Linked DNA regions of Homo sapiens: all the other regions are linked to region 1. Evidence: promoter capture Hi-C in 16 types of primary human blood cells and fetal thymus (Javierre and others, 2016). All regions are on one chromosome and are shown on one strand. The core of a region is centred on a gene start or on the middle of the fragment in contact, and the rest is flanking DNA. Distances in the headings are between cores, read along the strand shown.

Evidence for each region. Contacts are between HindIII fragments. The CHiCAGO score rates a contact against its expected background, and 5 or more counts as called.
Region 2: a fragment that was not itself captured here is called in contact with the fragment with the promoter of NRIP1 in region 1 in 4 of 17 cell types (fetal thymus, total CD4 T cells, naive CD4 T cells and 1 more); the score reaches 8.4 in fetal thymus.
Region 3: a fragment that was not itself captured here is called in contact with the fragment with the promoter of NRIP1 in region 1 in 7 of 17 cell types (naive CD4 T cells, total CD8 T cells, non-activated CD4 T cells and 4 more); the score reaches 6.9 in naive CD4 T cells.
Region 4: a fragment that was not itself captured here is called in contact with the fragment with the promoter of NRIP1 in region 1 in 6 of 17 cell types (M0 macrophages, M2 macrophages, non-activated CD4 T cells and 3 more); the score reaches 6.3 in M0 macrophages.
Region 5: a contact is called between a fragment that was not itself captured here and the fragment with the promoter of NRIP1 in region 1, in 3 of 17 cell types (megakaryocytes, M2 macrophages and M0 macrophages). The highest score is 10.4, in megakaryocytes.
Region 6: a fragment that was not itself captured here is called in contact with the fragment with the promoter of NRIP1 in region 1 in 1 of 17 cell types (M2 macrophages); the score reaches 6.9 in M2 macrophages.

What each region holds. Positions count from the first base shown.
Region 1 is chr21:15,062,253-15,067,366 of GRCh38, reverse strand. It overlaps NRIP1 (nuclear receptor interacting protein 1), which reads left to right and starts at 2,367. Exons shown (of 4, transcript NM_003489.4): 1 at 2,367-2,622. LINC02920 (long intergenic non-protein coding RNA 2920) reads right to left here and starts at 297. Exons shown (of 2, transcript NR_186411.1): 1 at 155-297. RefSeq lists enhancers at 1,466-1,515, 3,966-4,015 and silencers at 1,846-2,025, 2,276-3,135. The HindIII fragment of the contact is 10,218 bases long and covers 1-5,114 here.
Region 2 is chr21:15,534,527-15,539,640 of GRCh38, reverse strand. All of the region lies in intron 2 of LOC105369302 (a long non-coding RNA gene), which reads left to right. Among named protein-coding and RNA genes, the nearest start is that of USP25, 190 kb to the left of the region's middle. The HindIII fragment of the contact is 4,404 bases long and covers 621-5,024 here.
Region 3 is chr21:15,517,668-15,522,781 of GRCh38, reverse strand. No RefSeq gene overlaps it. Among named protein-coding and RNA genes, the nearest start is that of USP25, 210 kb to the left of the region's middle. The HindIII fragment of the contact is 705 bases long and covers 2,223-2,927 here.
Region 4 is chr21:15,464,965-15,470,078 of GRCh38, reverse strand. No RefSeq gene overlaps it. Among named protein-coding and RNA genes, the nearest start is that of USP25, 260 kb to the left of the region's middle. The HindIII fragment of the contact is 3,765 bases long and covers 326-4,090 here.
Region 5 is chr21:15,445,353-15,450,466 of GRCh38, reverse strand. No RefSeq gene overlaps it. Among named protein-coding and RNA genes, the nearest start is that of USP25, 280 kb to the left of the region's middle. RefSeq lists an enhancer at 4,770-5,114. The HindIII fragment of the contact is 7,816 bases long and covers 1-5,114 here.
Region 6 is chr21:15,425,142-15,430,255 of GRCh38, reverse strand. The region is part of intron 2 of LOC101927745 (a long non-coding RNA gene); the gene reads left to right. LOC124905055 (a long non-coding RNA gene) reads right to left here. Exons shown (of 2, transcript XR_007067934.1): 2 at 4,297-4,727. Among named protein-coding and RNA genes, the nearest start is that of USP25, 300 kb to the left of the region's middle. The HindIII fragment of the contact is 2,674 bases long and covers 1,720-4,393 here.

The DNA of each region.
Region 1 (5,114 bases), core at 1,118-3,617:
GGCTATCTGGATTCCCAGTCCGCACTAGACTGGAAGTTACCCATCAGAAGATGAGGAGAATGTTAGTGGCAGCTATGCTAGTAACAGTAAGGACAATAGATTGTCAGTTAGTGAAGGGGGAGAGAGAGAAATTACAAAAGGCAGAGATAATCACTAAGTCATAGCATCCTAGAGTCCTTCGGTGCAGCGACTGATAGCTTTTGTACCTCCTGGGAGCATTCCTAACACCTAGAAAGAATATAGAATAGGAACTGGATATATTTACTGAATCCGCTACAACCTACTACAATAATTACTTTTAATAAAATTAACATTGAATTATCAAGAAAATGCTAAATGACGTTCAACAAACTGCTTAAGAGAAACATTTGCAATACATTGTAGAAAAATCTGTATAATGGTTAAAAATAATTTTCATAAAAAAAGTTTGACCCCCCACTAAGGGCCAAGCTCCAATTATGCTGGTCATCATTGAATTGAAACGGTTTGCTTTGTATCAATTCTGAATAAATGATGCACTAAAAAACAGCAGACTTTATTTTGCCTAGAGCAGATTTTGAATTGTGGTATATGCAAATAATATGGTATTATATTATATGAGGTTTAACTATATAAAATGGCAACAGATTGCATAGTTCAATCACTAGGGTGATGAAAAATAATTGTTTTAAAATGTGCCATTGCCACTAAGGAAAACATTGGCACTATGTGCCCGGCACTGTGCTGGGTGCTGAATTTATTAAGCATTAATTTGAAAAATTGCTTTCACTTTCAAGACTGTGACAGTATTCTAAAACTCTCATTCATATTGTTTAAAGGTTAAGTGAAATTTGCAATACACAATACAGCCATTACATAACAGGCACAGAATACAGTTTCATGACTTGGATAGTTTTTGTTTTTTAAGCGCATTAGCAACTTCATTTCCAAATGCTATCAAATTCTTCAGGATATGAAAACCTACATATAAGAATGGAGTGCCTCATCGGCTCATTTGTCTTATGTAATAAGTGTTTTAACACGGGCATGCCGTTTCAGAATTTCGGGTGAGACTAAGCTGTACTTTAGCTTTTTTGTGTCAAGCAAAAACAATTTCAGCAACAACACTCGCTTCCCCTGGTAATTTTTTTCATGGCGAATTACTAAATGCTAGATGCTCAAGTCAAAAAGAAACCTGACATCTGGGGAGGTGTTGAGGGGGTGTTAATAGTTCTAGTGAGATGTCTGGGGAGCGTTGAGGATACGATTTTTCAAACAGCAAATACAAGGATAAGGGGAAATTATGGTTTCGTATGACTCTCTCCTCCTTCCACTTTCTCGTTTCACCAATCTGTGGCCCCCCCAATTTAGAGGCGGGTTCAGTGAGATTAGGCTGCAGGAAACCGAGAGGCTCCACCGCGCTGCCGCCCCGGCCTCGTGATGTAATTGTTATTTCTTATTCGGAGACCGAACCGAGGAGAGCTGCTGAAGAAGTAGCAGCCCTGCTCCTTTTCCCTTGTCTTGTTGGGTCAGATCCTTCCCGGGGATGATGCAGATTGGCTGACAGACTCCGCTGGAGACTTCGCAGTGACAAAGCAGCCGAGGATTAACCCTGCTCCTGGGTCCTACGTCTGTCCAGGGAGCTGAGCGGGGCGCTCCTCAGGTCTCCTTCCTAGTTTTCCTCCCAGAGTCGCTCCACACGAGTGCTGGGCGCCTACTACGTGCTGGGCGTGGGGTCAAAGTGACCCAGAGTTCGCGCCCGTGCCCCCCAACATTAAAGCAGGACACACAGATTACAAGGAGATAGAAATTGGGGGTGGGTGGGTGAAAGGGGGCCCAGAGAGCGCGTGTTGTGGGGTGAAGGGGAGGAGGTAGACGCTTAAGGCAGGCGGGGACCCTGGAGCGTCTGGGGCGCCCCGGCCCCCAGGCTGTGCCCAAACGGGAGCATTCGGCCTGGGTCCCAAGAGCGCTTTCCCCGGTCCCCAGGAGGAGCTGTCCAGGCGCCTGCAGCGGTCGCGGGCGGCTGGACAGAGCTGGGAGCCCGGGGGACGGCCCGGGCGCGCCGTGCAGCCCCTCTCTCGGGGACGCGGTCCTCTCGCTGCCTCCGGGTCTTGCAGCCCCGTCTGGGACACCCGGAGAGCAGGCGAGAAGGAAATCCACGAAACAGAGGGGGTTCCGCAGCTCCTGTGAGCCGCCCGGATCCGCGCGGCTTCCTCCTGACCGGGTGACAATGGGAGGGAGGGGGAGAAAAGGGTTAAGAAACTTGGCTGAAGAGCTGAATGGCGTGGGGCGGCGAGGGGAGGGACTGGGCCGCGGCGGACTCGGCGGCGGAGGGAGGAGCGCGGCTGCGGGCGGGCGGTGAGCGAGGCGCTCAAAGTCAGCCTCGCAGACATTGCAGCAGAGCCCCGAACTCGGGAGGCGGCGGCGGAGGAGGCGGCGGCGAGGCGCAGGGACGACCCGGCCCCACGCCCGCCCGCCACCCGCGCGCGCCCGTCCGCCCGTGGCCTCGCGTCCGCCGCTGCGCCGTGAGCGCCGCTGGTCGGAGGGAAGAGCTCGCCGGGGCGCCGGGCCAGGACGGGGCGGCAGGCGCCTTCGCGGACCGAGCCTGACGGAGCCGGAGGCTGGGAGCCGCGGCGGCCTGGGGTGAGTGACGGCCGCGGCCAGGGCGCCAGGAGTAGCGGCCGCCGGCGCCGCCGGAAACGGCCCGGGAGCGCGGCCCGCGTCGGCTCTCGCTTGGCTGGCAGGGCCGCGGGGGCGTCGGGGCGGCGGGGAGGGCGCGTTTCCGGGGAAATCCTGCCTCTGCTGCCTGGTTCGAGTCTCCGGGTTCTCGCGGGGGGCCGGGGCGGCGGGCCGGCAAGTTGTGGAGTGGCCCCGGGTCGGCCCGCCCGTCCGTGCCAGTTCTGGGCAAGGGGGCGGCCGTCGCGTGGCCCCTGAGCGGGGCCGGACTCGGGGGGCCGGGTCGGGGTTGCCCCCGCTCGCTTGCCCTCTCGGTCCCGAACCCCGGGCACCGCTCGCCTCGCCGCTCTCCGTCCTGCTGTCCAGCCGGATCCTGGGCGGCGCCTTTCGCCTGGGTGCCTCCCTGCTCCTTGCTCGCTGGATACCCGGCTGGGAAAGTGAATAGGAAAAGGGACAGCTCGCCCGGCCCCCACCCGACCCCGGGCCGCTCTGCCCGCACTCGCGGTCCCCTCCCGATGGCGAGGCTCACGGACCCGAGGCCTCAGCCATCATTTTACCAGGAGCCAGGGGCCGGCCCCCATTTAGGGTGAGCCCGGTGGAAGTCCGGGAGGCTGCCTTTTCTCCCTTCTTCTGTGTCCACCTTATTACGATTGAATATTGTTTTATGAAGGTTTCCGTGGATGTATTCTGCAGACCCTCCCATCCCTTCCAAAGTAGTTTCCCAATTTTGATCAGGAGTTGGTGTTCAGTCAGAAGGAACAAAGGAACCAACTGTGTCTTAGAGGCGGACAGGCTGGGAGTCTGTGACACATGTTGATCTCTGAAGCATTCCAGGAGTTTCTACCTTTTATCACGTCAATAATTGGCTGCTGAAGGTAGTAAAAGAAGTACGGAATGATAAGCACTTTTGCGTTTTAAAAATATTTTTTAATGGCACATTTTACTTTGGGGAAAAAAGACGTTCTTAGGCACAAGGATTTTTAAAAACCCAGTTGGTGGAACTGAGTTGGAGTTTGTTTCTGGTATTGTAAATGATTACATGTGGGATTGTGAAGGAAATTGTGTCCTTAGAGGAAGAGAAGCCATCTGTAGGTGTCCATAGTAAAAATGGTTGTCGGGTTATATGTGATGAATGCTCTTTCTGTTTCTTGGGGGAATTTGTGAAGCAAGGGGCTTCGGTAATTCATTCTTTAAAGTTATGAATTGCATTGAACCTGCTTATTAGTGAATCATAGGTTTAGTAAGTGGGTGGCATTATTCAGTGTTTAATCATCAGTTTTCCACCTTTGTTGAAGAGACAGTGAAATAATAGACTTTTTAAACAAATGGTGTTTCATCTGCCTGGCCCCTAAGTGTCGGTTGCCGCCTGGAGTATGTTGAAGTGTTTTTCACCTTCCAAGTAAGTGAGTTGCTCTGGTTTTGCCCGGCAGTTCGGTAACGTCGATAGGGTTTATTTGGTTCAGGGAGCACTGGCTTCATCACCTACAGTAACTTTTTTTCTGCCTGGGCATAGTTCCTAGAGACAAAGAAGGAGAATCAATTAGTGGAGCGGCTACTGCCCTGCAGGTTGTAGGATTGGTTGTTCTAGTCTGTTTCATACTCTGGTGGAGAAAGACCTCTTTCCAAACTTACCTTTAAAAGTGCCCTAGGAGTGTGAGTAAAATATACATCAGAACATAACAGAAAAAAAAAAGGACTGTTCGTTGTTGATTTTATTCAAATGAGTTAGTTGAAAAACCAGGTTTAATGCCTGTGGGAAGTTAGTTGAAAACCAGGTTTAATGCCTCTTTTACATGCATTTCTAAACTCTGCAGAACTTGGATTTTGCTAATTTTAACACCCTAAAATATTGTTAACTTTGCACTAAAGAAGTGTGTGAAGAGACTAAAGGCTTTTCTGACTCTTGCAGTTATAAGTGCAAAACATCATGATAAAAAATAACCTATACCACCACCTAGAGTCTGTTTGTTAGTTTATTGCTCATGAAGTTTGCTTAAATTGACATGTCTGTTACAGTTCTGATATAGTCGAAAATGATTAAGAAGTACTAGCTTTCAAAAGCCCGTCCAAGAGAACAATTATTTAAGTAATAAATAGCAAGTGCCACTTTAAATTATCCGTGCCACCTTTAGAATTGAAAATTATGACATATCAAGTTGAGTGGGCTATTCTCCAAAAGATGTTAATTCAGAAGATTTTAAAACGGAGTTTTCAGTTTGTGCGCCAAGGCAGTTCTGATTGCTTAAAGACTTCTGCGTTGTTATCAGAGATTCAAGAAATCTTCCCAATCAGATGCCATTAGAACTTTTTGAAGTCCAGATGAAACAAAAGCAAAAATACAGGAGAGCATTACAACTACAGAAATTCTGGAAATTCAGAAGTTAAGAGAGAACGCAGCCCATGACAGAGTTGTGATTCAGAGATATGAAGAGTAAAATCAATGTGAATTAAAGTGATAA
Region 2 (5,114 bases), core at 1,573-4,072, 470 kb before region 1:
TAATCATATATGCTTGGATTTCATCCTGTGTCACTACCAATAAACCTCATGTTCTGAAGCATAAAAACCACAAGGCAATCTTGAAATGGTCAGTAAACTAGCGTGCTTTGTAATGTAACACCCGTGGTTGGAGTGCAGGAAGATTTTTAGGGTTCATTTAAGGGCACACTTAACATAGTATTTCTAATTAAAAGATTATGATGACACAATGATCCATCTCTGTTAGATCTCAAATGAAATGTTAAAGTTGATAAATGAATTACAGATACAAACCTATATTAGTCTTAAAGAAATAAATGATCCATTCTTTTAATAAATAAAGAGATAGAAGGAGACCTAATGCCATGCTTATCTCAGATGTTCACCCACAATCTCTCTTTCATCACATGGAGAAGCTCTAAGGAAAATGAAAAGCAGTGCTAAATGGAATCCGTCTTACACAAATTGCAGAATTTTAGTAAGAAAGTTCAGAAGAAAGGAGCGTTTTAATTTAACATGAGGCACATCTGTTCTCATGTCTTCTCCTGCATTGTTCTTGTTTCTTTGCGCCCTTATATTCACCCAATTCGGTTATACTTGACTGCAGGATTTTAAAAAGCGAATGACCAATCAGGTAAGCTTACAAAAGAAAGAAAGGCAAAAAAAGCATCAGTGCATAGTTAAACACACACATGTGCACACACGCACACAGATTGTTTTGATGATCTCTTGAAAATTTCGAAACTGTCCCTGTTTTGCTGACCAATATTAAGTTTCCTTTGATAATTTCTCCTCTTTAACAGACTTGGGAAATAAGTAACCTTTTCTAACACATGGCATTATTTCTGCAGGTCAAAAACATCCATTCTACTTTAAGGTATTGAGGCAAAGAAGAGAGCCTCACTCAAGTCATTGTGCGCCGCAGGGTTTCTCTCAGGACACGTGTGTGGGAATCAAGAAAAACTGAACCATCTGGTCAAGGAATCTTGGGAATTCTGGAAGAGCTGTGCACCCCAGGACAGGAGCTGAAAATCTTCCTTACATTTCATTCTCTTTCAAATAACCTGCAATTTTGCATAGTAGGCATTCACAACTTTAACCACTTTTCATTTGCCATATTCAGTCTGATAAATTAACTGATTAATGAATCCTTTCTTCTTTCCTTCATCCTTTCCTACCTCCTTTTCATTCTTTCCTCCTTTATTTCCTTCTTTGGTTTTGCTACCTGGACACTGTGCAATGTTGAGTAAGCTACTTAGCTCTTCTATGCTTTAGCTTCTTCTCTAATTGAAATAGTAATATTAACATTAATAATAATAATATATCCTCTAGGGCTGTTGTGATGATTAAATGAGTTAATACATCTGTAATGCTCAAAGTATTGCCTATTACAAGAGCTTTAAATGTCATTTGTCATTATTAGTAGTTACTTTTCTTTCTTTGTTTTCCTTTCATGAGAAGTATATAAATCTATTCTTGTAAAAACATTAAATGGATACAGAAATATGTAGAGTACAATGTCAAAGTTTCATTTTCTTACTTCCCATAGACACTATCCTTGGCAGAGATTACAACTTGATATATATAATTTTAGTTCTCTATCTAGATAATTACATGCATGTATGTGTTAAACACATACACACCCCTATATATAAATACTCACGTATTCTTAACATAAAAGTGAACATATCATTTGTGTCTTTTTTGGCAACACCAATAGATCTTAGATATTTTTCTATGTTAAAATACACAGTTCTATCATATACTTTTGTAGAATAAATGAATTTATCAAACATACATTTATTCTTTACAAGACATCACTCTAGGCATTGGGGATTTAGTGATAAATAATAGATAAATTGCTTGCCCATAAAAGTTTTGATTCTAGTGAAAGATATGGACAATAAAAAATGTGGCTTAATATTTAATATAATGTCAAGAGAAGGTAAATTAGACAAAGAAAATAAGAAGAGAGAAAATATAGAGAGGTTTGAGGCCAGGTTGATGAGGAAATTTCTCCCTGGGGGTAACATTTAACCAGAGATGCTGGAGAGAAGGAATCAGCCCTGAGAATGGCTGGAGATATGAAACGAGCAGAGGAATGAGCAAGTGCAAATGCCAGTGAGTTCTGAAGCAGGTGAGTGGTGGGGAAGGAGAGAAGAGATGAGTTCAGAAATGCAGGGACCAAATTATATAGGACTGCGGTTCAAAGTAAGGATGTTGGGTTTGATTTTATTTCTATTGAATCTCTGCCTTTCTTCTAATGAATGAAAATAACATAGCCTACTTCACCCTAATGATGGAAATGTATCTCTTTTGAATATTACAATGAAAATCCTTGCCTCATCTTTGTGCACCTGTGGCTATTTTTGCAAGTTGTCTTCCTGGAGTAGACTAACTGGGTTAAAAGGTGATGAGCATAATGTAAATGCTGGTAGATGCTGTCAAATTGCCTTAATAATTTTTGTATTCCCACCCATGGGGCGTGGAGGTGACCATTTCCCTTCATTCTTTTCAATATGAGATATTATCACCCTTCTTATTTTCAATAATATGAGACTTGTCACTCCTAATTTTCAACAATCCAATGGGAATAAAATCATGTCTGTCTCTTTTTTAGCTTGCATTTTCACTGTTAATAAAGCAGAAAAGGCTTTACAGGTTTATTAGCCAGTTTGATTTTTTTTCTCTTATGAGTAGCCTATGATCACATTTGCATTCCAGGTCATGCTCTGGCCAGGTTTTGGATTGGCTGCCTTTGAGTCAAGTATTCACCCTCAATACAATCAGCTGTGTCTGGAGATTGGGGTTACATATTACAAAACATAGCTCTTTAAGGCTGCTCTTCAACATGGGCTATAAGTAGCACATGATAACCTATAAACTCTATGGGCAAAGCAGTTACCCTGACTAATGCCCAGTACAATTTGATGGTGAGTGAAATTAGAAATATAACACATTATTTATTGAGCACACACCGAAAGCATCTAAGCTCTACTTTACATGTTATAGGTGACAAAAAGTTACACAAGACAGTGTCACTATCCTCAAGGAAAGACAAATTCAAAACTAATTATAATTCAGAATCCAATGTATTCTGAATTCCCCAAAATGATACTCACCAAATGATAAAGCAATTCTGAGAGAAAGGAAATCACATTCAGCCAGTAACCCTGGTAAGGTTTAGTGGTAGTAATAGTCTTTGCCTTCGATTTTGAATAGGTATAGGATTTTTTTAAGTGGCTATATTATTTTTGTAAAATAAATTCATGCGAATACATGACATAAAAGACTGAAGTAAAAATCAGCTATAGTCCCCCACTGGGAGAAAACCACTTTATTTTTTAGCGAATGACTCAATATTTTTGAGAAGGTCCCACCAGACATCTGTGTGTGTGTGTATGTGTGTGTGTTCATATGAACATATGTGAAGTTTTACATCAATAGGGACTTTTTTTTCTTCTGTCACTCTTTGGTACATTGGCCAATGCAGATACTCAGTATATATTTTTTGAATGAATGAATGTTTTATAGCTTGCTCTATGTTAATAAAAGGTATGTCTAACCAGTCATGTTTACTGACTGCATAGTGTTTCATTACTTGTGTAATTTATTTAACCAGGATTCTATGCAAAACTTTTAGGTTTATGTTCATCTGCTTTATTTTAAAAAACCTGATAAAATAATCTCCAGCTAAATCTATTTTATATGGATGTAACTATCTCCCTAGAGATAATTTCTAGGAATGCATTTTCTATAGGAAGGATAGAGCATATTTTAGAGCATAAATGGTGCATAAAACCAAACTTCTGTCCTGCATGGAAATGTGAATTAAATTTTCAACAAGATGTGGTAGCACATGATTTTACACGCTGGCCAAAACCAGGTTTTAAAAACCTTTTGGTGAAGAGAAAAACAACAGATACTGGGGCTTAACTGAGCAGGGAGGGTGAAAGGAGGGACAAGATCAGAAAAAATAACTATTGGATACTAGGCATAGTACCTGGGTGATGAAATAATCTGTACAACAAATCTCTGTGACATGCGTTTAACTATATAACAAACCTGCACACATGTACCCCTGAGCCTAAAATAAAAATTAAAAAACTGATTACATTCTAGTCACTTATCATGTAGCAAAAAGAAATAGATAATTGAAAGTTGATTCATTTTTTAAAGTGGTGAACACACGATAAGAAAGTCAATAGGTAGATGTTCTTAATTATTTATTATTATAAATTATGGTAATAAATTTTTTTTGGTGTATGTGGAAGTTAGAAATTCTAGTTGTTATTAAGTATGTGTCAGGAGGTAGAGGGGGATTAGAAGTGGGTATACTGTTTAGAAATATCATTTGAGATAAGGTTTATTTGGTCTGATTTGGAGGATAAGAATGCTTTAATTTTGTGTCTTTTACATGTTTGTCCATTTATTTTACTAATTTTATTCTTGGAAGCCACAAGCTGGTTCGATATTTCTCACACAGGAATCAAAGTGGACATTCAGATGCACAGTGTATCTCCTTGTATTCCATAATGAACAGGGAGTGGAAACTGAATGCTTATCTCTTTCTCTTTGTTAAAACTATGAGACTATGCTGAATTATACAACTTCTTAGTAAGTTACAAAACTACATAAGCAGTTTAGCTATACCGTAGTGTAATTAATCATGAATCAATTTTCAGTTATTTCAGAAGACTTTTCGGTGTATGGTTGTGCCACTTACTCAGCTATTGTCTCTCAGCTCAAACCACATTTCTATAATTGCTTCATGATCCTGAAGCTGGAACTCTGCAAACCTTATTTCTGCTTTGCCCCCTGATTTCCTGTTATGCTCTGCCAAAAGGGGGCACAAGACGGAGACTAGGACTGGAGGAGAAAGAAGGAACCTGGTCTTTCTTATTTACTCCTTGTTGACTTCCTGTCCGTTTGCAGTTCCTGTAAGCATCATTTTGGCAGCGCTTCTTCACCCAGGCAGGAGTAGTAATTCTGTATGCAGTAGCTGAATTCAGTTAACAGTTTTTTAAACACTTGTGAAACAAGCTTCACTGTGTCACAGTTAACAATCACCAGCATCTGCTAACAGTATCCTGTTTTCTACAGTCTGGGTCTCAGCCCCTTGGGACCGCTCTTCC
Region 3 (5,114 bases), core at 1,326-3,825, 460 kb before region 1:
TGTGGTTGTGTCTGTAGTCTTATTTTTTTGATGACTGTGAACATTAATTAAGCTATAGCTATGCAGGTTGGAAGGTCTATTATGGTCTGAATATCTACAAATTTATATATTGAAATCCTAACCCCCAATATGATGATATTCAGATATTGGGCCTCTGGGAAGCAATCATATCATGAATTCAGAGCCCTCATAAATGAGATGATGTCCCTTAAAAAAAGAGGCCCAAGGGGGTTTGTTTGCCACTTCTGCCACATGAGGACTCATCTAGAATGTGCCCTCAATATTTAAATGGCTATACTGCAGGGATTCACAGTGGCACTGACATGCCAGCCCCCTGCCCCTTCAGCCCCCTCTGGACTTTGGGCACTGACAAGCATGGAAGGGAGGTCGAGGTGGGGATAAGGGCGGCTTGGCACAGGCCTGCAGGTGCCCCTCAGCACAAGCAGCCTGGGCGCCATGGGCTCTGTGGATGGCAGGTTAATGGCAGCAGGAGGCAGACAGGCTCCTGGCTGCAAAGGGGCAGGTCCCCAGTGAAACACTAGCTTCAGGCCAGGGATGACCCAAGAAGCCTGCGGGTCAGGATGTCAGTTCCATGGACCAGAATGAAAACTAATGGCGCTTTTTCAGGGCCTGCCCATAATCACCCATGGGCCAATCAGCATGCACTTCCTGTCCTCTGAAGCCCATACAAATCCTGGACTCGGCCAGACTCAGGAAGATGACAGGACAAACCTGCTTCTGGAGAGAAGCTACCCACTGTGGGTCTCCTCTCTACTGAGAGCTCAGCAGAAGACAGGATGACCTGCCTGCGTAGAGGAGGTACCCACTCCAGGGTCTCCTCTCTGCTGAGAGCTGCAGATTCATCAGACGACCTGCCTGAGGAGAGAAGCTACCAACTACAGGTCTCCTCTGAACTGTTCTGTTGCTCAATAAAGCACCTCTCTGCCTTGCTCACTTGTCCACATACCTCATTTTTCCTGGATGCGGGACAACAAGTCAAGACCTGCCAAATGGTGGGGCTGAAAGAGCTGTAACACAGGCAGTGCTGAAACATGCACCTCACTCGCCATATTGCAGGTGACAAGAAGGAGAGAAGAGCTGTGGCCCCTAGGGGAGCCCAGGCCTAGAAGCTCCCCGAGCCAGGGCAGTGACACCTTCTTTGGGGCTCTGTAGTTCCTGGTGTCTCCAAGCTTCCAGGCACCACTGTGTTTCCTGGTGTCAGCTGTGGCAGCTATTTGCAGTACACCTGGTCCAGCCATAGCCTTGCAGTGAGCAGGCACTCGTGCCAGTACCTGGAGCTGCCTGCCCTACCATAGCCAGAATATCTGGCTATGCACAGTGGCCAGACCCCACACTCTCTCACACACCCCTCACCACTCCATGCCTGGCTCACACTTGGCAGGTGGAGGATCCAGGTTGGTAGCATGATCCAAGCGCAGCCTGCCAGGCCAAGTGGGTGGAAGGAGCCCAGTGGGCCTGAGCAAAACTCAGGCAAAGGTGCCCCTGGCCACAGAGTTTACTGGCTGGAAATGTGACACCCCAAAGATCCTGTGACAGTGTGGTGATGCTTTCTTGCATTTTCTGAAACCCATCTTTTGCACCTCCAAACTAGAGTCTAAAAGCTGAATGTTTTATGCTGTAGACAATTTTCTGTAGCTTGAGGAAATTTCAGCCACTTTGGAGGTGGGGAGGAAGTCATGCACACAGGAGAGCTGAGAGGAAGTGGCATGAAATCTTTATTAGAACTCTGAGCTCTTCTGTCTCCTCTGCCCTATTCCAGGGTTCACTCCACCTAGTGGCAGATACTCTGGGGAAGGATTCTTTCTCTGGGTAACCCTGGGGGCTTTATTTCTATCAGAGATGTCTTGTAATTTATTTCCCCTAACTTCACCCACTTCGCCCCTGGAGCACTTTCCACTCGTGTTCAATCAAAATAAAAAGATGCCAACATTTATATGGCATTAGGGAGGATTGACTGGCTCTTTTCCAGGATGAGGGCATGGTTGGGAGCTTCTTCCTTTTCTTCTGGAAACATTTGTTGCTTTCTTTGGACTGGCTTATTAAATTACAGTATGTTATTCTCTTGTTCTGGTTTGGTGGTTGCTGTTGAACATTTTCTCATTGGGTTTTATTGCTGTCATTGTTGTTCTTTTTTGCTCGTTTTGTGAAATTTTATGGGAGAGAAATTAAATTTTTGGACCCACCATCTTAACATGGAAGCTTGTAAACAATATTTTACTGGCCACCTTTATTCATTACTTAGAAAAGAAACTCAATCTATCAAAACTATATTTCAGACATAGGATTATTTTGATGAAGTGAAATTTATTATACATACGGTGAGACCTAACTTGTGTTTTTAATATCCTTAAAGTGCCTCGATTGTGTGGTGATAGGAGCAATAAACATCAAATATAAATAAGTACTTGCACCTGACAAGTAATTTATAAATATTTTGCATGTACTATGACCGTACTTATTTATGTACAGAAAATACATAGTCAGACTATATCCACAAATAAAAATGCTGACCATATAAAGTGGTAATTCATAGTTATTACATGTCTCTTCTCTCTTGGTTTATTTTCCTCTACATCTTTTCCCATAATTATTTCCTTCAGTCATGGCTGTCTGTTCTTTTTTTTTTTTTTTGAGACAGAGTCTTACTCTGTCACCCATGCTGGAGTGCAATGGCAGGATCTTGGCCCACTGCAACCTCCGCCTCCCAGATTCAAGCGATTCTCCTGCCTCAGCCTCCCGAGTAACTGGGATTACAGGCACCTGCCACTGTACTCGGCTAATTTTTGTATTTTTTAGTAGGGATGGGATTTCACCATTTGGTTAGGCTGGTCTTGAACTCCAGCTGTCAGTTTTACTTTAAGGCAAAAAGCAAGGAAATGCAGCTTTTGAGTTTACGCCAGAAAGCTTTTTCTGCCTTGAAGAAAAATAATATTTCAAACTGTACACTACAGTTTTTAATAACCTGATGTTCTAAGTTAGCAACTGTTGTCTATTCTTGTTAAACTTTACATAAGCATATGTGAAATAAAAAAACTAAGAAGCTATTATCACAATATTATATGAAAAATAAATGCTCAAGAGAATTAATTCAGATGCCAACACTGCGTATAACCCATATTTAATTCTCCTCAGAGTTGCCATATAATCTGCTTATAGTTGAAAAATCCTTGAAATGTATAGATATTTCAACAAAAATTCAGTAGGACTCAAGAGAGATTATTTGATGGGATCAAGAGACAAAACTAGAGAGTACACACAAATGTACACAACACACACACACACACACACACACACACACACACACACACACACACACAGTAAGTTAGATGCCACAGTGGCCTAGAACATTAACCAACTACTTTAAAACAAGGTATTCAGGTGACTGTATGATATGGTTTGGCTTTGTCCCCACCCAAATCTCACCTCGAATTGTAGTTTCCATAATACCCAATGTGTTGTGGGAAGGACCCAGTGAAAGGTAATTGAATCATGGTTGAAGTTACCCCAAGCTGCTGTTCTTGTGGCAGTAAGTTCCCAGGAGAGCTGATGGTTTCATAGGTTTTATAAGGGACTTTTTCCTCTTTTGCTTGGCACTTCTCCTTCCTGCTGCCATGTGAATAAGTACATGTTTGCTCCCCCTTCTGCCATGATTGTAAGTTTCCTGAGGCCTCTCCAGCCATCCTGAACTGTGAGTCAATTAAACCTCTTTCCTTTGTAAATTATCCAGCCTTGAGTATGTCTTAATTAGCAACATGAGAACAGACTAACACACTGTAATACAGCAATGGCTTGTAGCTCTGTAAGTGACTGTCATCCTGCCCTGATTCCTCTCTCTAGCACAAAACAATGCCTATGTATTCTAATATCTCATCAGTTCTATAAAGGAGTGACTAATAAAAAATATCTTTAATTTATTCTTCTTGTTCCAAGAAGCAAAAGTGCTAAAGGTAAGTCTAATTTATTTCCAACATACATTAAACTGACAGTATGTGTAAACTACAAAAGGATCATAATTTTATTCTATCCTCGTTTGTTCATATCCAGAATTATTAATAAGAAAAATCAGGAAGCCTAGTAACTCTCGACACTATAATTCAGCTTATGAGAAATTTCTTTTTTTTTTAATTTACTTAACCAGTTACTTTTTATTGAATATTTTGGGTTTTCAACTTTTCACTCTTACGAACAATGCTAAAAATGAGCTGTCTTGTACGTAAATATTTGGTACCTTTTTCATAATTTCCTCAGGATAGAGTCCTAGAAGTGGAATTTCCAGGACAATAGGGCATGCATATTTGAAGACATCTAAGGCACCAAACTGCTTTTCAGAAAGATGGCACTCATTTATAGTACTATGGGTGGTAATTGAGATGACTGATACCTTGTTATTCCAAAGTTATTGCACTTGAACTTAAAGAACCATGGTTTGGGTTTACAATGAAGGAAGTGAGCAGCGTGCACTGTTCTATTACAGTGTTCTTCTGAAAAGACAGACCTGATAGGCCACTTCCGTGCTGAAAGTCTCCATTGATCTCTGCTGCCTGAGGAACCAAGTTTCTTTATATATATATATATATATATATATATATATTTTATTATACTTTAAGTTCTAGGGTACATGTGCACAACGTGCAGGTTTGTTACATATGTATACAAGTGCCATGTTGGTGTGCTGCACCCATTAACTCGTCGTTTACATTAGGTATATCTCCTAATGCTATCCCTCCCCCCTCCCCCCACCCCACAGAAATATCAATGAAGAGTCAATAGGTAATTCCAGATGCATATTATGTTGAGATGCATTTTTTACTATTTATAGGTCTAGAAGTCACTTGGATTAACGTTATTCTTAAATTTCCAAGATAGCTCCTTCTCAATTCATTCTCTTGGAACATCCTGAGTATATAACTAATATTCTTTAAGTGAAGCTATACAAAAAGATACACAATTTGATAAAGGTTTGTACTTTTTTCATCTTACTGTTAGAGTATTGCTATCCCAGTTTAGAATATGTTAGTTCCAGTGCCCAAGCCCTACCAGATCTGCAAATATTCATTTATAGAGGCATGTTTTTGTGTGACTCTTCTATATGT
Region 4 (5,114 bases), core at 959-3,458, 400 kb before region 1:
CCAGGCTGGTCTCGAACTCCTGACCTCGCGATCCACCTGCCTCGGCCTCTTAAAGTGCTGGGATTACAGGCATGAGCCACTGCACCTGACCTAAAATTCTACTCCTTTTCTACTTGTAAATGGAATCCAGTCATTTCTCTTTCTTCTGAATGAATTGGTTTAATCTTCGTTTGTGTTGAAAAAGAGTAGAACTTAAGACCATATTCAATCCTTCTATGTAGCACTGAGAAGGGGGGGTCTTTAAGGAAATTGGTTACAAGGAAAGTAGAGCTTTGGTGTTTTTCACATTTTTATTTATTTGCAAAGATGCACATGCCTTAAAGCTTTATAAAGATGCCATATAAAGTAATACATATAGGGGTCTCTCATTTCTTCCTCTAGAACTTGTACATGGTCTTATTCTACAGCCAATATTTTACAGATTGCATTTTACCTCTGTAGTGCAACTCTGAGAGCCGTGTCCCATATCTTTAGCCCATGATCCTCAATTAACAGATACAGCCAGATTTTCAAATAAATGACTAAAAGTAAGAGAATTCTCAAAATTTCTTATACTCATTCCTTTAAGCCAAAACTTTAAAAGATGCTAACCATTTCAAAAGACACTTTGCCAGAATAAATCATATTCCTCTGTGCTTTTAAAAACAGAGAATGCAATCTTAATTCTAATTTGTATTGTGGACTTAGAGTAGACTTTTATCCTAGTCAAAGGGCAAAGCAGACCACAGTGGCGCACTGCTCCTGGGAGACAGAGGTGTGGAGAATTCCATGTCTAGATGCCCATAGAAACACCATGCATTTTGACTTTCATTCCATACTCAACAAATATTTATTGGGCATTGGTGTGCTAGAGATTATGCTGATAACTAAGGCTACAATGCTACAAAGGTACTAACTCTGCTCTCAAAAAGTTTACAAGTCAGCAGAGGACAAAGACAAATAAATGTCTGGCATATAATTACCATTTGGGAAATGCTTCTAATAGAGGTGTGAACAGAGCTCTCCTGAGAGAATCAAGAAATAATTTTTAAATTTTCTTTAATTGAAAATATCTGTGTTGCCTCTTCTGATCATAAACATGCATGTAAAAAGTTTAGCTAATATTTAAAAAGTGTAAGAAGAAAATAAGACCACTTGTAAGCTCATTACTAAAAAATAACCACAAATTCCATTTTGGTACATTTCTTCCAAATTTTTATGGGAATTGCTGCATATAGTGGAGTGCATGTGTGTGTTTGTGTGTGTATATGTGTGCATGTGTTTTTACCAGATCGTCTGCCACAAGGCTGACCCCTAGTCTACATAGCCATCCTGCCCACTTTGCAATTTCCTGCTTTCTATCTCTGTTGGGTGGGAAATCAGACAACCAAACTTGTTTGGATGGTGTCTGAAAGAAGAGCAAATTACACTGAGTGCAAGTCTGAGGGCCTCTTCTCAGAGAAAAGAGCATGAGCTTTAGCACATGGTTTCTATTTTGAATCCTCAGAGGCCTTTTTTTCCCTTGCTTCCTGGGTTTCAGCTGTGTTCCTGGTACTTGAGGTTACTGGAGAGATGACCTCTCCATAAGCGAGCCGCTTTTTTCTAAATGTAGTTCCTGACTTTTAGAAACTAATGAGAATTTGGCAATGCCTGGCTATCAATAGCTTGTCACTATTAAGCAGTGAGCAAAAGCAGCCTCAATTTTAAGCCTCTACTTTCCCCCAGGAGAAGCCTGCCAATCTGTGCATAAAAGACATGTGGCAATTGGAACCCAATGCTAGTTATATTTGTCCTGTGTGATCCTTCATCTAGGGTTACCAGATAAAATATAGGACACCCAGTTAAATATGAATTTAAATAAACAATGGGTGATTTTAAAATATAAGTATGTCTCATGCAGTATTTGAGACATCCTTGTACAAAAAACTGTGCCTTGTTTTATCTGAAGTTCAAATGTATTCAAGTGTTCTGTATTTTTATTTACAAAACCTGATGATTTTACCCCATCTTTTCCAGGTACCAAATCACCATAATCAAACTCTTCTCCTCCCTCTTTTACTTCTTTTCTCCTTACTCACAAGGCTGGCCAGAGAGGCTCAGTTCAGTTGAATAGGATTTGCTTCTTACTTGGCTGTGATTCAAACAGTTTAAACAGAAGGCATGTTTGGTAATGGAATAATCTAGTTTAAATAAATGAAATATCTTAACATGAATGCAGAATCTCATTCAAAGACAATTAAATTGAGGTCAAATACGTATGTGTGTATAGATAGATAGAACCATTATGATTTTATAAGGAAAAGTTATTTCCAACTTAAGTTCATAATCTAAATCATAAGGATTTGAACAGAAAGATTTGGAAGGTTCCAATAAAGGTTAAGTTTCAAAATCATGGGGAAAGTTACCTAGAAAATAACTTTTCTCAATGCTTTTTTAATGATTCTAAAATCGTAGTCAAGGGAATTTATCTATTAATTCCTTTAAAGCTACTGCTAGCACTAAGCCAAGTGCATTGAGATGATTGATCTACATTTCTTCCCCATGATGACAATGATTATGCTGCTTTTTAGGAAATACCTGTATAGAATTGGAGAATTTAGAGTTTTTCTGCCTATTAAATGTATAAAATTCTGAGTTATTCTCTTATCTTAAAGTCAAAGAAGGCATAGTTAACGGTTTGTCCTGGATTAGAATTTGACCTCTGATCCTTACTTTTCAGACTGTACAGAAATCCCTTAAATGCTCTGATCTCCAGTTCCAGTATCTGAACAAAAGGATAGTGATACCTGAGGATTTGTGAGGCTTAAATGAGGTAACATATGCAAAAATATCTGGCCTGGCATAGTGGTTACCCAATAAATGTCATTGTAGTTCTTTTGGGATGTAATTGCTATTAGACACTAAGATATCTGGCAATTAAAGAGACATACATGTGAGCAGTTGATTCCTGCTTCTTGTGGTAAATCCTGGACTACATCACTCACATGTTCCTATCTTTCTGCATTTTCTTCTACATATCATAAGGCATGTTAAGTTACTCTGCAGGCCTTAATCTTATAATGTTCCTTTCACCTCTTGCCAAATTCCCAAAGCCATATGTAGAGGATGGCTTTCTCTTCAGTCTCTAACCTCTTAAGTTACCTGATAGCTAATAAACAGAGATCTTGCATCCATGACACTGATATTTTGCATACATTTATCTTTCCTCTGAAAAACAGGTACTACTTATTTTCCTCCATTCTTGGTAAAGAAAAAGTGCTATAACCTGATATCACCTAAAAATAAAGTTTGGCCAATACTACACAGGTTTCATGTAAGTTCATCATCAATGAAAGATAAAATGACTAAATTAAACAAAATGTCCTATAAGTGTTAAATAAAAGATATGTATTCGCATGGATTGAAACATAGTAGAAACAATTATTTTAAACAAAAAAAATGCAGTTCAAAAATGTTACAAAGGTAACCCATTGCTTTATTTGGAAAATTCTGGCGTTATATTGGAGTAACATCAAATTACTATTTTAAAACTAATATTTTAAAATATATTTTATTTTTATTATTATTTAAAATAATATTTTAAAATATATATAAATATAATTATATAGCTTTCAATTTGAAATAAAGAAAGACAAAATAGGTAGATCTACAACAGGACTTTTTGCTGTTGTTTGAGTTTGTCTTCGCCAAAACTCATGTTGAAATTTCATCCCTAATGTGGCAGTGTTGGGAGGTGAAACCTTATGGGTGGTGTTTTGGTCACGGGGGCAAATTTCTCATGAATGGTTTGGTGCTGTTCTCACGTTAGTGAATGAGTTCTTGCTTTGGCCAGACTGGATTAGTTCCTGTGGGAATGAATTAGTTCCTGTGAGAGTGGGTTGCTGAAAAAGCAAAGATGTCCCTTGGGTTTTCCTTCTTTGCACGTGTTTGCTTCCACTTTGACCTACACCATGTTATGATTTAGCACCAAAACCCTCACTAGAAGCCAGGGCCATGCTTTTGAACTTCTCAGCCTGCAAAACTGTGAACTAACTAAACCTGTTTTCGTTATAAATTATCCAGACTCAGGTACTCTGTTATAGCAACACAAAATGGATGAAGACACTAAGCTTCCCAGCAACCACTTCTTCCCTGCAATTCAGAGACCATCTGAGATGTACTGTACAGTGAACAGTAGTATCTATCACTGAAGTTCTCACCAGCATGTCTATGCTATTTGAGTGTTCTCAAATCATGGACCTAAACTTTACAAAGTGTCTCGTGCATTTTGCTTCATATTTACTTTTAAAATAGCAGAACTCTGGCATTTTATAGTAGGTGACAGTCTTAGTCCGTTTGTACTGCTATAACAAAATACTAGATACTAGGTAATTTATAAACAACAGAAATTTATTTTCTTACAGTTCTATAGGCTGGAAAGCCTAAGATCAAGGTGCCAGCAGAGTTGGCATCTGCTGAGGGTTTATTCCACTGATGGCATCCTCTCACAGTGGCAGCCTCACATGGTGGAAGGCGGAAGAGCAAAAGGGGACAAATATGTGTCCTCACCTAGTGGAAGAGATGGAAGGGCAAAATTGGTCTAGCTAGTCCCTTCCAGCACTTTTATCTGATCACTAATCTCATTCATGAGGGTTCCACCCTCAGGACTTAATCACCTCCTGTATTAGTCCGTTTTGACGCTGCTGAAAAAGACATACCCAAAACTGGGTAAATTATAAAGAAAAAGAGGTTTGATGGACTCACAGTTCCCTGTGGCTGGGGAGGCCTCACAGTCATGGTGGAAGGTGAAAGACACATCTTACATGGCAGCAGGCAAGAGAGAGAATGAGAACCAACCAAAAGGGGTTTCCCCTTATAAAACCATCAGATCTCATGAGACTTATTCACTACCATGCAAACAGTATGGGGGAAGCTGTTCCCATGATTCAGTTGTCTCCCACCAGGTCCCTCCTACAACATGTGGGAAAAATGGGAGCTACAATTGAAGATGAGATTTGGGTGAGGACACAGCCAAACCATATAACTTCTTAAAGATCCCATGTTTTAATACAGTACTATCACACTGGGGTTGAAGTTCCAACATGAACTTTGGAGGAGATACAAATATTCAAATCACAGTATCTTTTCACTCACTT
Region 5 (5,114 bases), core at 1,392-3,891, 380 kb before region 1:
TCACACTGTTGATGGGAATGTAAATTAGCTCAACCATTGTGGAAGACAGTGTGGTGATTCCTCAAGAATCTAGAACCAGAAATATTATTTGACCCAACAATCCCATTACTGGGTATATACCCAAAGGAATATAAATCATTCTATTATAAAGACGCATGTATGCTTATGTTCATTGCAGCACTATTCACAATAGCAAAGACATGGAATCAACCCAAATGTATGTCAATGATAGACTGGATAAAGAAAATGTTGTACATATACACCATGGAATACTATGCAGCCATAAAAAGGAGGGAGACCATGTCCTTTGCAGGGACATAGATGGAGCTGGAAGCCATTATCTTCAGCAAGCTAATGCAGGAACAGAAAACCAAGCACCGAAGCACCACATGTTCTCATTTATAAGTGGGAGCTGAACAATGAGAACACATGGACATATAGAGAACAACATACACTGGGGCCTGTTGAGGAGGGATGGGGGAGGGAGAGCATCAGGAAAAATATCTAATACATGCTGGGCTTAATATCTGGGTGATGGGTTGATAGGTGGAGCAAACCACCATGGCACACATTTACCTATGTAACAAACCTGCAGGTCCTGCACATGAATCCCAGAACTTAAAATAAATAAAAAAACAAGCAAACAACTTAAATGGATATTTCTCCAGAGAAGTTATCCAGATGGCCAATAAGCACGTGGAAAGTTTCTCAACATCATTATTTATGAGGGAAATGCAAATCAAAACCACAATGAGATACCACTTCACATCTGCTAGAATGGCTATACATAAACAAAATAAAATGGAAAATAACCTCTGTTGACAAGGATGTGGAGAGATTGGAACCCTCATACATTGCTGATGGGTATGTAAAATGGTACAATCCACAGTGGAAAACAGTTTTGGGGTTCCTTAAAAAGTTAAACATAGATTTACTACATGATCACAGTTCCATTCTTAGGTGTATACCTAAAAGTACTGAAAACAGATATTCAAACAAAGACTTGAACATGAATGTTCACAGCATCACTATTCACAGTAGTGAAAAGATATAAAAAACCCAAATGTCAATCAATGGAATGGCCAAGCAAAATGTAATATGTGTGTACAGTGGAATTTAGCCATGCAAGGGAATAAAATACTGATAATGCTACAACATGGATGAACCTGGGAAGTATATTAAATAAGAGAAGCTAGAAATCAGACATCACATTTTATGTGATTCCATTTGTATAACATATATAGAACAGGTATGTCTATAAAGAGAGAAAGAGCACATCTGTGTTTGCCAGGGTATAGGTAGTTGGGTAATGGGAAGTAACTGTTTAGTGTGTGTATTAGTCCATTCTCAAGCTGCTAATAAAGACATACCCAAGACTGGGTTATTTATAAAGGAAAGATGTTTAATTGGCTCAGTTCTTTACAGTTGGCTAGGCCTCAGGAAACTTACAATCATGGCAGAAGGGGAAGCAAACATGTCCTTCTTCACATGGTAGCAGCAAGGAGAAGTACCAAGCAAAAGTGGGGAAAGCCCCTTATAAAACCATCAGATCTTCTCAGAACTCACTCACTATGACAAGAACAGCATGAGGGTAACTTCTCCCCTGATTAATTTACCTTCCACCAGGTGGCTTCCATGACACATGGGGATTATGGGAATGACAATTCAAGATGAGATTTGGGTGGGGACACAGCCAAACCATATCAGTGGGTTTGGGATTTCCTTTTGGGGTGATGAAAATATTTTTAAACTAGATAGAGGTGATGGTTCCACAACATTGTGAAGGTAATAAATGCTACTGAATGTACAGTTTAAAATGGCTAGTTTTATGTTATGTAAATTTTACCTCATTTTTAAAAACAAAAAAATACACCCACTGGAAATGTATCAGTATAAACGGGGCCTAATGTGGGATTGTGCTCCAAATTCATATCACCCCCTGACTGGTAGTGCTAGTTGATGAATGCCATAAGAAAATACACATATTTTTGGAGGAATACACTCTCAATCTAAGACTCAGAATAGCCTCACAGAAAAAGTTTCATCAAGCCTAAACTCACAACAACAACAAAAATAACAAAACACAATGGAAAATAACATATTGAGACCAAGAAAGAGGATAAACAACAAAGAATACAAAGAAAAGAATCAGATGCATTAAGATCTCAGATATGGAAATTACTGCATTTAGAATATAAAAAGTAAGAATACTGTTTTTTCTTTTAAAATTTAAAAATTTTAAAATCTGTACTAAATTTTTAAATCTCTACTTTTTTTCTTTTAAAATTTAAAAATTTTTAAGTCTCTACTAAAATTTTTAAATTTTAAAAGAAAAAAAGAAAGGCATCAAATGTGTGAGGAAGGCATAAGACTGTGGAGACTGATCATGCAGAATTGCTAAAAAATTTTAAAAACAGAACTTACAGTAGTAAAAAATATAATTATTGAGATTAAAAACTCAATGGTAGAGTATCAGATACAGCTGAGGAGAGAATTTACAACTGGAAAATACAGCAGAAGAAATGACTCAATATAACATGGGTAAATATTTGGAAAACATGAAATAGAGGTTAAGGGACATTACAGTAAAGTTAGAAGGTCTGGCTTATTGCTTAGAATTTCACAAGAGAATATAGAGAATGGAGAAAAGTCAGTATAGGAAAAAAAATGGCTAAAGGCTTCCCAATATTGGTGGCAGACTAGATTACATCAGAAGACCTCAGTGAAATATAAGTAGGTAGCAACAAAAAAAACACACACCTGAACACACCTTAGTGAAATTTCAGCTCACCAAAAACAAAGCAAATATGAAATAACTACAAAGGAATGAAAGCAGCTACAATGGAAGCCAGAAGATGATGAAAAATGTCTTCAAAGAGTCAAGAGAAAATGACTATCAAATAATTATATACTAGGTGAAACTACTTGAAATAAAGCCATCATCAGATAAACAAAAGCTAAGTTTTTAGGAGCAAATCTTCACTAAAGGCTATTGTAAAGACTGTACTTCATTAAAAAAAGAAAATATACAAGAAGAAATGTGATGCTTTTAAAAAGCCCAATAATAATGCTGGGCAGGGTGGCTCACCCTGTAATCCCAGCACTTTAGGAGGCTGAGACGGGCAGATGACCTGAGATTGGGAGTTCAAGACCAGCCTGACTAACATGGAGAAACCACATCTCTACTAAAAATACAAAATTAGCAAGGCATGGTGGTTCATGCCCATAATCCCAGCTAGTTGGGAGGCTGAGGCAGGAGAGTCGCTTGAACCCGGGAGGCAGAGGTTGCAGTGAGCCGAGATTGTGCCATTGCACTCCAGCCTGGGCAACAAGAGCAAAAATCCATCTCAAAAAAAAAAAAAAAAAAAAAAAGCCCAATAATGAAGAAAATACTGTACTTATTTAATTTAGAAAACTGAAGTTTGGAGTGTTTCCCCAAATCTACAAATAGCAATTTAGAGTTGGTGTTAATATCCTGTTCTATATGACTCAAAGCATGTATTCTCCTATAATATATATATAAAATACTTGACCCGGCTGCATAGGTTTGCTTGGGCTGCCATAACAAAATATGATAGACTGGGTGACTTAAACAACAAATCTTTATTTTTTCATGATGCTGGAGGCTGGGAAGTCCGAGATCAAGGTGCTGGCTGATTCCGTTTTTTGTGAGGGCTCTCTTCCTGGCCTGCTGATGGCCCCCTTCTTGCTGCGTTTTATACTGGGGATTGGAGTTTCAACATATGAATTTAGGGAGGACATATTTCAATCCATAGCATCATCCTTCCACATTTTTTAAATTCCTGAAAGTTAGTTATAAACCCGATGATTGAATTCACTCTAATTCTCTCATATTTAAATGGGAAATTTTGTGCAAATTATTCCTTAGTCTCCATACCAAATTCCTTGGCAACCCATGTTTTCCCTGCTGTGTATCAGGAAGCTAACCCCACTGAATCTTTTTACTGACAGGTTACAGCTGATATTTTGCCACAGGATGTACTGGCAGGAGCTGACTGAGTTGCAAGGAAGTAAAGCCAGGGTATTTCTTCTCTGCTGCCCTGTGGCTTCAGCACCACGTCTTGGGCAGCTGCTGCATTTCTCCAAAACTACAGCTCCAACTGGGCGGCCCCTCCTCTGTGCTTCCAGTTCTCGCTGGGTTCTGTTAACATTATTTCTTCTCATTGTCCCTTCAGCCCAAGAGGTTGTAATGTTGCTAGTCCCTGGGTAAATTATTTATTTGCTCCTAAAACTCTGCCTATGCCTTTTTGGAGTGCTACCGTTAACATATCTTCACTTAAACCATTTTAAGGGTGAATCCCATTTCTTACTGGGACCCAGGACCTAACAGGCCTTGCTTACATATTGCATTTAAATTAAATCTCAGGTTTATGGTACTTACATGCCATTCTACATTTGTATTTCAGAAAATATATATGTACATAGACATCCATTTCATTTAGGGAGAGAAAAAGGAAAAGGATAAAGTAAGATGTCAGAAGGAATGAAAGGGACCTTGCAAAACTACATAGAGAAATCGTCCCTTATGCCTTTAGAAAAACCTCACATTACCAAAGGGTCTCTGGCAAAGAAGCCATACAGAAAAAAATGCCCTTTTGTCTTCTTATGCATAAGTTGAACATCATTACCCAAGTATTGTCCATTCCTTTAAGGGATAGGTTATAGGAGGGAATTGTTCTTTTTCTTTAGGATTTTTTTTTTTTTCATTTTTTTCCCTTGGAATGAGAATAATTAGAAATTTTCAATACTTTAGTTTAAAATAGGTCATTTCCCTTTCACATTGTCAGAAAATTCGTACTTCCCTAAATTGGGTGATTGGGTGTATTCAGGGAGTTCCTCTATGCAGTGTAGCTGAGTTTCAAAATCAGTGTCATTCTCGGTGTTTGAAATGTATGGTGGAAATCTGTTGGGCTTGCTTTGTAAATGCAGAGCTAGGTCAGGTGAAGCCCAAAGGCAGTAGGCCAGAGTGGGCCCCAGGAATACCTCCAGCAGAGAAGCAATTCAAATGGACAATGAGCAGGTGCAGGCAGGTTCAGATGCTGTGATAGAAAGGTCAAGAAAGGGGATCTGAAGAGAGGAGAAAAAGGACAGAG
Region 6 (5,114 bases), core at 1,807-4,306, 360 kb before region 1:
ACTGTTTAAGGGATGACTCAATTTTGGTGATTATACTAGTATCATCCAAAAATGGAGCTTTTGAGTTTGCTCCAGATTTTGAAAAATTGATTCTTACTGAAGAGGACTAAAATCTCTATGTCAGCGTTCAGTGTCTTAACACATTATCTTCTTATCTACAGGCAGCTTAAACCAGTATCTTAAGTGAACGGCTGGAAGCCAGGAATTTTGAGACTGGGTACAGCCTAGTAGAAAAAGCATGGGTAATGGGGCACTATTTAAAATCTCTTTTTGAAAGATTTGAAAATCTTGAATTTGAAAATCTTGAATCTCTCTTTGCCAGCTAACCAGCTGTGAACATGGAGCCACTTCTAAGATCCTTCTGAGCCCCAGTTTCTGAATCTGCAAAAGAGGGACAATCCTTCTTGCCTTGCAGAATTATTGTGAAGTTTACATTAGATCCTGTATGCTATGCACAGGATGTATGAGGCTTACAAAAAGCCTTTTCTTATAGCTTCTTGGTGAGGTAGAATGAGTTCATATTGCACAAGAGTTCATTTTCTGAATCTAACTTACCCATCGTATGAGAAATTAATAATTAAATGGTTGTGACATTTTTATCATTATGACATAGCAGAAGAATACTTAACAATTGAAGTAACATGGCATTCATCATCAATCTCATTTTGAGAGGGTCGACTCACAAATAGAACTTCTTTTCTTGCTTATGATATTCATACAGCTATATTCATATCTTTAAAAATTATGACATATCTTTTATATTTTTATATATTTCATGCTTTATATTTTCAAATATAAGTACAGTTAATATACAATCTTCTTTTGCCTTTGAATTTCACTTTCAGAGACATGTTTCTATTTCCCAATATTTGCCTCTTATCTATAATAAAAGTCACCATCCTCTTCAAAGTGTGTTGTGTCAATGTGCAACCTCAGTATACTTAATTCTCTGACACACACCCTCTGAGAAGAGTGGTGAGAGTTGCAAGGTGAAGCTCTCTTCTTTGGGGCACTCATTCAGAATATACGTAGACCAAAAGACAATTCTTGTCTCACTTTCATTATGATTTCCCAATGAGCCTCCTGAAAAGCTTCTACCGTTAAATTGATTATGCGTAAAATATAATTTATGAACTTGAATAATCACATTTTTAATTTTTTGCAGCTGAAATGATATGTGATGTACAGTTTAAAGGGTTATCATCTCCTTTCAGAAATAATCACCTGGTTATAAACCCATTACCAAGATAGTAAATAAGACCAAAATCTTCACTGGCTTTGAAGATAGACTTGGTTTGAAATATTCACCCCACAATAAATTGCTTGTATAAATTTGGGAAAATTTTTTGCCATTTTTGAGCCTCAGCTTCCTCATCTGTTAAGATTGGGTTAGTAATGATACTACTTCAAGATGACATTATGAGATGGTGAGAGAAAGCACATAGGGCTTTCTAGAAAAATTCTGTCTCATCTGAAACTTGAAAGAGGTATAGTGTTAGCCAAGCCAAGAAGGTGGGAAAACTGGCCTTAAAAGAAATGATCAACTCTGCACAGAATATTCTTTATGGTTTTATCATACCAGTGATGGCATCTCTTGTCATATACATGCATTTAGGTCATAAACTACATTTTATTTAGCATTGAACATCTCCAGCATCCCCCTGCCTTTATAGGAATAAGCAACAAAAGATAAACTGAACTACATTGAAAGTAAAAGCTTTTGTGTTGCAAATGATACTATCAAGAAAGTGAAATGACAACCCATAGAATGGAGAAAATATTTGTAAATAATATGTGTATAAGAGATTGATATATAGATTGTTATAACTGTTATAATAACTCCTACAACTCAATAATAAAATGCCAAATAATTCAATTTTCAAATGGACAAAGGATTTGAATAAACATTTCTCCAAAGAAAATATAGAAATGGCCAACCAGAACATTTAAAAAATGCTCAACATTGTTAGTCATTAAGAATGTGAAAATTGGCCAGGCATGGTGGCTCACACCTGTAATCCCAGCATTTTGGGAGGCTGAGGCAGGTGGATCACTTGAGGTCAGGAGTTCAAGACCAGCCTGTCCAACATGGTGAAATCTCGTCTCTACCAAAAATATAAAAAATTAGCCAGGTGTGGTGGCATGAACCTGTAATCCCAGCTACTCAGCAGGCTGAGGCAGGAGAATGAATCACTTGAACCCGAGAGGTGGAGGTTGCAGTAAGCTGAAATTGTGCCATTGCACTCCAGCCTGGGTGACAGAGCGAGACTCTGTCTCAAAAAAAAAACTGTGAAAATTAAAAGTATATGAGGAACCACTCTACACCTACTAGGATGGCTATATTTTAAAAAGAAAGAAAGAAAAGAACAATAACAACTATTGTTGAGGATATAGAAAAATTGAAACCCTCACACATTGCTGGAAGAAATGGAAAATGGTACAGCCACTTTGGAAAACAGTTTGGATGTACCTCATAAGGTTACACATGGAGGCATAGAGGTATCTTGTTTAACTCCACTATGACCTAGAAATTTCACTTCTGGGTATATGCCCGAGAGAAATGAAAATATACATCCACACAATAAACATGTGAAAAATGTTATAGCAGCATATTCATAATAGCCACAATATGGAAATAGCGCAAACGTCCATCAACTGATGAAAATAGGGTATACCCACACAGCAGAATATTATTTGGCACTTAAAAAGAATGAAGTACCGACACATGCTATAACAAGGCCGAACCTTGAAAACATCAAGCTAAGTGAAAGGAACAAATTACCAAAGATTACATATTGTGTGATTCAATTTATATGAAAGTTCGTAAGAGGCATATCTATAGTGACAGAATGTTGATTGGGATAACTAGGGCTGGCGGGGTGGAAGAGGGAAAATCAGATTAACTGTTAATAAAGAGGGGATTATTTGGGGGAGTGATGAAATGTTCTAAACCAAGATGATGAAGATGGTTACAGAACTCTCAGAATTCATTAAACCCATTCAATTTGCTAAATTTTATGGTATGTAAATTATATTTCAATAAAGAGTATTAGAAAAACGAAAACCATACAGGGTTCTATGCACCATTGTCAGAAGGTGATGGAAATTCCAAAGCTCATTCCGTTTCTGAGGTATTTTTGAAACTACAGGTATTCTAAAAATGCATGTATATATGTATTTGAAACATCCCAATGTAGAAAACAAACTACTTTTCAACTTAAGTGAAACTAGATTGAGATAAACTCAAAATAAAGTTAAGTCTGTCAAAGTGATTTGATACCATTACAAAATTATTTGACATTCACTATTTATCATGTTAAATTTTTGTAGCCTCTTCTGAATTGCTCTCTAGGCATGTGGGATTGTGGAACTATTACTCTGGCTAATATTGAAGTATTAAGGCATAATGTCTAGCAGATACAGTAATAGACAGTGTCTGATTTATCTGTTTTCGATCTAACTGATAGTAATAGATACACTTTCATTAACATAATAGAATCATTTCACAATTATTTTAATGCACCAGCTAGACACAGAAAATAACTTTGATTTTGTGTTCAGTGCCCATTTGCCCACTTAAACCTGCCTGCAAACTCGTCTTTTCCTACTGCTTGGATTAAATCTCAAGAATTCACACAATAAAAATTCATCCAGTCACTCTGAGTTACAAATAAGATCTCATTTTATCAACTGAAATATCTAGTACAGAGTCATAATCAGAACTCCAGACCCATGCCTATTTAGTCCTCCTCTTCTCTGACAGCTCAATTCTGTGTTATGTCCGAAAGCTCGTAGCAGGAAGGGAATGGGCAGATACATCCCCGTTGTTGCTTACTCGCTGGCTATGCTTTCTGATCCTTCCACGGTCAGGCTCAGGAGGGCATGAATCACGGACCCAAAACAGGGACTTTGAGATTACTCCGCCAAGGGATTAAGAGAAGACTGAAATTCTGCTCACACTCTGCTTACCAACTCATGTGTCCTGGCAAATGGTATTATGTCCCCCAGGAAGAAGCGATACCATTCAAATCTGCACATGCCCATCATCTGTTCACAAGTCTTTTGCCTATGGGGTGGGCCTGCATCTACTTCAAGAATGTACCATTTAGTTTTTTGTTTTTTTAACTAGCAAAATTTTAACATCGTAAAGATAGAGCTGCCCTATACCATTACCCAGCTTAAAAAACTACCAAATCTTAGAGATGTCTTTTCATTTCAAACGAAGTTGTAGGGATGATGGGAATTTTTTCCTCCCCCTCTGAAGTTTCAAGTCTGCTAAAATAAACTGACAATGGATTTACAAGAGGAAAAGCACACAAATTTATTAACATGTAAGTGTTTACGGGAACCATACAAAATATGAAACTCAAAGAAGGGCAAGGTGGTTGAAGCTTAAATACTCTCTTCATAGGGAAGAGAGAAATGAGAAATGTAGGTAATTTTAAGGGGTAGTAAGTGACTTTCAGGGAGATTGAATGAGTCCCAAGAACAGCCAATGTCCTAGAACAAAGCTTCTCTGATCTCTGAAGGATGTTCCAACAAATTGCAGAAAAGTGAGGGACAGAACTCCACAGTGAGCAAAGGTTGTCTTCTTACATAGGTAAAATCTCCCAGGTAACTTCTCAGAGCTAGTCTCAGAAGAATAGATGAAAAGTGTTTGGCATGGGCATGGTGACAGCATTGTCTTTTCTCTGCGCTTAATCTTCTTTGCTTATTTGATGAGATTCCTAGGGAGGGGGTTTTAAGATAATTGCGTTTCTTTTGGAAGAAGTTTCTACAGCCATACTAGAGAACTTCCAGAGAGAAGCTCTCTCTGTAATAGATATACTTTCTATCTATCTGTCCTTGGTGAGGAGGAGAAACGAGAAGATCAGAAAGTCCCTGTTTCTGAGTCTGCTTCTAAGGCCTTTTAATTTCCTGTAGTTCAAAGTGCTCAGCATGCTGCAGTGCCATACTTTGGAGGACTGGGCCCCAGCAAAGGTATCATTCTATGGACTCCTAGAGGCCTTAAACACACTGCCTGTAAACCTACCTTAGTGACTACTTCATATGGTGCCTTTGGGTTACATAAACCCTCCCCTCCACAGTCCTCACCACTTGTCTAAACCATACCT